Regions from separate parts of the Homo sapiens genome. Here region 1 is linked to region 2. The links are contacts of gene promoters, found by promoter capture Hi-C in blood cells and fetal thymus (Javierre and others, 2016). All regions are on one chromosome and are shown on one strand. Each heading gives the region's core, a stretch centred on a gene start or on the middle of the fragment in contact. The rest is flanking DNA. Distances are from core to core; before and after follow the strand shown. Region 1 holds the start of NDST2 (N-deacetylase and N-sulfotransferase 2). Region 2 holds the start of PPP3CB (protein phosphatase 3 catalytic subunit beta).

Region 1 (2,812 bases), core at 83-2,582, 310 kb before region 2:
GCCCGGCACTGCGGAGGGCCGCTTGATTTCCCGGAACCCAGGTCGCGCGGCTGCTAGGGCCGGAGCCGGTGGATCCGAGCGGGTGCCACCAGCGGCGGCGCGCCGCCTCCCCCGGTGGGAGCGGTGGTTGGGCCAGGCTGCGGCAGAGCGTTCGCTCGGAGATGGCGGAGCAGCCGCGACGCGGCCCGTGGCCCCGAAAGCAGGGAAGCCGGGCAGCCCCGGGACGCGGCGGAGCCCGGGGACAGCGGGGACGCCGCCCAGTCCTCCGGGTGAGCCGCCCCTGAGGAGACCCCCCCGCCCACGGTCGCGCTCAGGCCCCCCCAACAGACTCCCTTGGATGTTGCCACCATCACCACCCGCAGGGTCGTCCCGGGCGGCCCAGCGTGCGCCGCGCCCCGGGTCCTTTCCGCCGGCCTCCCTCAGAACCGCCTCGCTCCCCTCCGGACCGGGCGGGCTCCCTTCTTCCCGCAGGGCTCTCCCAGCCCAGAGGCTGTCTCGATGTCACCCCGGAGTCGCCGCCGCGCGCCTGTGGCCCCTTCCCCTTTGGTGTCCCACATCCGGTGCGCTCTTCGCATCCACCTGTGCCCCCGTCTCCTCTCGGCGGGGCCCCTCCACCCGCCAGCCCCGGGCCCCCTCGGCGCCCGCAGCCTCCGCGCCGCTGCTCCGGCCGTCCCGGCCTCCCCAAGCCCGGGCCCGGCCCCGGCCCCCGTCTGGCTTCGCCGTCCTCAGAGATCTCCCGCACACACCCACCCCGCCCAGCCCTGCTGGCCCTCAGTGTTCACTGGCCCGGCCTGCGGCGCTCCCGGCGCCCCTTCCCTAAACCTTGCTGCTTCTTCCAGGTATGAAGCTAAAATGCAGCGGCTAAGAACGCGGCTCTGGAGCTTGACAGGCCTGACGTCGAATCCCAGCCCTCCCACCAACTGAGCTGTGTGATCCTGGGCAAGGTTCTAAGCTTCTCTGAGTTACTCATATGTGAAATGGGGATAATGGAGCATGTACCTTTTCCCTACCTCTTAGGGCTGGTGTGAAGATTAAATATATGTGAAGCTCTTAGAAGAATGGCTGGCAAGTTGTAATTTCTCAAATACGGGATGATACACCCTGAGTATCAACTTCCCGTCAGTGACCTCCTCACTACAATGTTTTCTCTAAAGTTGCATCACATTCTTAGCATTCACCCCTTCCCGTCACCATTTTGATCCTCTCCCCCAGCTGTCTTCTCGTGTCGTTTTACCTAGGCCAAAGCTGAACTGTTTTATTTTTATTTTTATTTTTATTTTTTTTTGAGCTGGAGTCTAGCTCTGTCACCCAGGCTGGAGTACAGTGGCACAATCTCAGCTCACTGCAATTTCCGCCTCCCACGTTCAAGTGATTCTCCTGCCTCAGCCTCCTGAGTAGCTGGGACTACAGGCGCCCACCACCATGCCCATCTAATTTTTGTATTTTTAGTAGAGACGGGGCTTCACCATGTTGGCCAGGCTGGTCTCGAACTCCTGACCTCAAGTGATCACCCGCTTCGGCCTTTCACAGTGCTGGAATTACAGGCGTGAGGCACCACGCCTGTCCTGAACTGTTTTTAAATCATCTCTGTCAATTCTGAAGGACCTCAGCTCTGCCTTATCACCCCTGAGATGTGTGTTTGGGGGTGGGTGGTAGAGAGGGATTGCCAGCCTTACAAGGAGGCTGAGTGGGGATAGTGACAATAAAGCTTACAGAAGCAGTCGATTTAAGAAAAAGAACAGACTCAGGAGGCTGAGGCCGGAGGATTGTCTGTCTGACCCCAGGAGTTCAAGACCAGCCTGGGCAACGTAACAAGACCCCCATCTCTAAAAAAAATTAAAAATTAGTAGGGTGTGGTGGTGCAAAGCTGTAGTCCCAGCTACATGGGAGGCTGAGGTGGGAGGATCACTTGAGCCCAGGAGTTTGAAGCTGCAGTAGGCTATGATCACACTAGCACACTGTATCCTGGGTGACAGAGCAAGACTCCATCTAAAAATAATAAAAGAGATCCCCAAAATTAGACCTCCTTAAAACTGTTTTCTGATCACACTGTCCTTTTTCCTTCTGTCATTGGTTGGATGTGACTTAAGCTCCTGTTGCTCTCTGTCATCCAGTCCTTACTCAAGTTGTTCTGTTTGTGTAACTGGACTCAATACCTCATGTCTCTCCAGACTAGCTCAGGGACTCTTCTGAGCTGTTTAGGAATAGGGTTGTAGAACTACTTAGGCTAAGTTAGGAAGGAGAAGTAGAGTGGACTCAGCTGTATGGCTTTTCTCAGCACCCAGTGTGTGGCCTGCTCAGGGGTTACATTTTTATCTCCTGACTGGCAAAGTTGAGGTGAAGGTCAGGGGCAGGTAATGTTTCACAAGCAACGGGTAAGGGAGTCCCTAATTTCTGGGTTTGGAAACTGGTAGAATGATTACCTATCATGAGGATTGCTCTTTCCTTTTGAACTCCCCCACCATAGTGTCCACCTGACTGCAAGTTCGTTAAAGCTGTTGGCTGTGATATTGGGTTTGATTGATGAGAAGATTAACAGACTCATGAGTTCCTTATCTGATATTTTGTTGGAGCATGGGACTTCTGAAGACTTCCGGGGCTTTCCGTCCCTTCCTCACAGAAAGATCAGAGCTGTTGCTGGCTGCCAGCTGCTCGGTCATGGGCTAGGAACTCCTTTCAGAGCAGGCCTGTTTTTAGCCTTCTAGGATATTTAGCCTCTTGTTGATGGGAGATTTGTTCCTATCATTTGCATATACTGCTCCATCTCTGAGCTTTGCTTAGAGAGGAGAATTTGGACATTCATTTGGGTATT
Region 2 (2,700 bases), core at 170-2,669:
GTGAGGAGCCAGAGACGAGTTGAAGGATATACAATCAAGGTGGGAATCAATGGGTCCTAAAATAGGGTGCCTTTCCTTTCTAGTATTGCTGCTAGGATGTTTCCCATCCCTTTCCTGACAGAGCATTCAGTACTCAGTACATTATACACTTCCTTCCTCCCCTCCTTAGGAAGATTTTCTGGGGATTCAAGCTCTTCTTACAGACTCACTCCTGATCAATGTACTCCAGGTGCCTTCCCTCTATCTTATAAGTTTGTGACGTGCCTCCTGTCCCTTCCTTCCTCTCCTTCCGTGGGGGCCTCTCCCTTTCCCTTCCCCTGTGGTGTTATGGCCCTTCCATGCCAGAAAGATCCATTTTCACCTGTGCCTCACTCCCGAGACTCTTCCCTCTAAAAAATAGCTTGTGGGTTCCCTTTTTGGAAAAAATCCATTGTTGGGTCTTTCCCTTCCTCTTTTCCTGGGGTCTCAGGATAGAAATTGACACAAAGAAGAGGTAGAAAGGTACTCCTTGGACCTTCGGACTACTACTTACTTACCACCATGCATTATGAACAGATTCTGAGCACATGTATTATTGAGCAGGAGGATGGGCAGGAATTGGTTGTTCCATCCCACTTGGATCCTGCACCATCAAGATATATAGAGCTTAGTGGATATGCTGGTCCCTGTCCATGATTCAACATATCTCCTGGTGTCGTGGACACACTCATCTAATAATTTTTGATGAACAGTCAGTTCTTGCCCCTCTACCCCCTTTCCCATGAGTGTCAGTCACCGTGGTCTCTATAAAGGTTCCATAAGTCACCTGGGCCCAGATTCTGTGCATGTGCAGAAATAAGGAATTAATTTCCAATTCCCTATTTACTCCTCTGCCTTCCAGGAGGAGGTTGTATCCTTTTCAGGTGAATTCTTCAGATTCTTTGCACATCTCTTGGTGTCATCCCCTTTATTCCCCTTACCTGTTTTGACAAACTATGGCGCCTAAATTGCTCTAGCTGCAGTCTTATTCTGTGCTTTCAGACTCTTGACAATTCCAGACTCTAAACACAAAGGCCAGAATTCTCTTTCAAACTCCATTTTGGATGGTCCCTTCTCCACTCTAGAACCTACAATGCTTCCTCTATTCTCTGGTCCCCTACCAACCCTTCAGTATTCAGATCTGGTAGCTAAATCGTTATACATTTCTCTATTAGTAGGAGATCCTGAGGTTTAATCACGTCTTCTCAGTTTACTGGGAATGCCATGAGAGCGGGTGTGTTTCCTCGCAGTCGTTCGATCGCAGCACCTCCTCATTCTTCATTCTGCATGCAAAGAATTTTAACCTGATCCCTTGGCCTCGTCCTGTTTCTCTCCTAGCTTCAGTAATTTTGCCCAAGTCCCTAGAGCCTACCCCGCCCCCACCCCCGCACGCGCAGTGCATGCCGGTCTTAGCCCCTCTGTAGGGAAAGAGGGTCCGCCATGTTCCCCGGCGGCGCCGCCGCTTGGCTCTGGTAGCCGCCGCCCCCGCCCCCAACCCCGCCCGGCCCAGAGCCTAGCCGAGCCCCGGGCCCAGCATGGCCGCCCCGGAGCCGGCCCGGGCTGCACCGCCCCCACCCCCGCCCCCGCCGCCCCCTCCCGGGGCTGACCGCGTCGTCAAAGGTGAGAGGTGGACGAAACCCTGGGGGCCTGGCCTGAAGAGCTAGCTGTGTGTGAGGGCGGGCGGGAGACCGTCCCCTCGGGAGTGGGCCCGGAAGGGCGGGCGAGTGACTGGCTGCCTCCCTTGGGGAGTGGCCCCTGGGCGGGCCCCTGCTGGGCAGGGCTGAGTCGGTGGCAGTGGTTCCGCGGTCTCCCGGTTGCTTTCAGGCCGGGGCGGAGGTTTTGCTTCCGTGGCTTCCTAGCCCAAGGGGTGAGGCTGTTAGCTGCAGTGAGCCCGTTTTCTCTTCACTCGGCCTGTCAAAGCGGCGCAGGGGCCGCGATTAGCTTCCTGCCCCGCGACAGCTGCACTTCTGGCTTGCCGGGGCGAACCGAGGGGCTCGGAGACCTTCAGCCACGCGAGGCCCGCCAGTGAGCAGTCAGAAATCACCTCGGCTTTGGCCCACGCCTGCTCCCCGGTGACAGTCGTCCGCCCTATCCGCGTCTAGCTGGCGACAACCGCAGGGGTTCACTTTTGGCCGTCAGGTGCCACCCGGAGCAGAAATTAGGGGAACCTTGTGGGATTGGATCACGGTGAAGGGTCGGGGCAGGAATTGGAAGGCCAGCCTTTATAGTGCAGAAAGGGAGAAAAAGCAGCATAAACGAAAAAAAAAATTCTTGTGGATAGCAAGTATTTACTTAGAAAACCATCAACACTTTGGTCAAAAGGAGTTACCCCTCCCTTACAAACACACACCCACACATTCATCCTAGACGAAAAAGTTAAATGTTTCTCAGCCAGGGCAGAATTTATGGATGTTTACCCACAACAGGTCAGCAGATTAATTTAAAATAGAGAAATTGAGGGCTAATTGAGAGTTGCTTAAGATTCCAAGCTTCCTGGGAGAGCCTACCAACCTCAAACACTGCTGTGGAGGTGAAAAACAATTGAAATGATTCTCTTTACCATGTAGCTTGATTGATAAATTGAAATCGTAGAATGAACTTTTCCTTATTTGTATTGTATTTATTTTTAAAATATAGGTACTTTTGTTTTCATTCAGCTTCTCAAATACACTGGCACAGTAT

Evidence for each region. The method cuts DNA at HindIII sites, captures the fragments that hold promoters and counts their contacts. A CHiCAGO score of 5 or more calls a contact.
Region 1: a fragment that was not itself captured here is called in contact with the fragment with the promoter of PPP3CB in region 2 in 1 of 17 cell types (fetal thymus); the score reaches 10.0 in fetal thymus.

The regions. Positions count from the first base shown.
Region 1 is chr10:73,808,931-73,811,742 of GRCh38, reverse strand. NDST2 (N-deacetylase and N-sulfotransferase 2) reads left to right here and starts at 145. Exons shown (of 15, transcript NM_003635.4): 1 at 145-269; 2 at 840-944. It overlaps NDST2-ZSWIM8-AS1 (NDST2-ZSWIM8-AS1 readthrough), which reads left to right. Exons shown (of 18, transcript NR_182658.1): 1 at 1-269; 2 at 840-944. RefSeq lists silencers at 1-340, 641-710. The HindIII fragment of the contact is 756 bases long and covers 955-1,710 here.
Region 2 is chr10:73,494,743-73,497,442 of GRCh38, reverse strand. PPP3CB (protein phosphatase 3 catalytic subunit beta) reads left to right here and starts at 1,419. Exons shown (of 14, transcript NM_021132.4): 1 at 1,419-1,638. The coding sequence starts at 1,554. PPP3CB-AS1 (PPP3CB antisense RNA 1) reads right to left here and starts at 1,691. Exons shown (of 5, transcript NR_132104.1): 1 at 1,626-1,691; 2 at 960-1,301. RefSeq lists enhancers at 1,213-1,402, 1,893-2,352 and a silencer at 1,483-1,832. The HindIII fragment of the contact is 5,148 bases long and covers 1-2,509 here.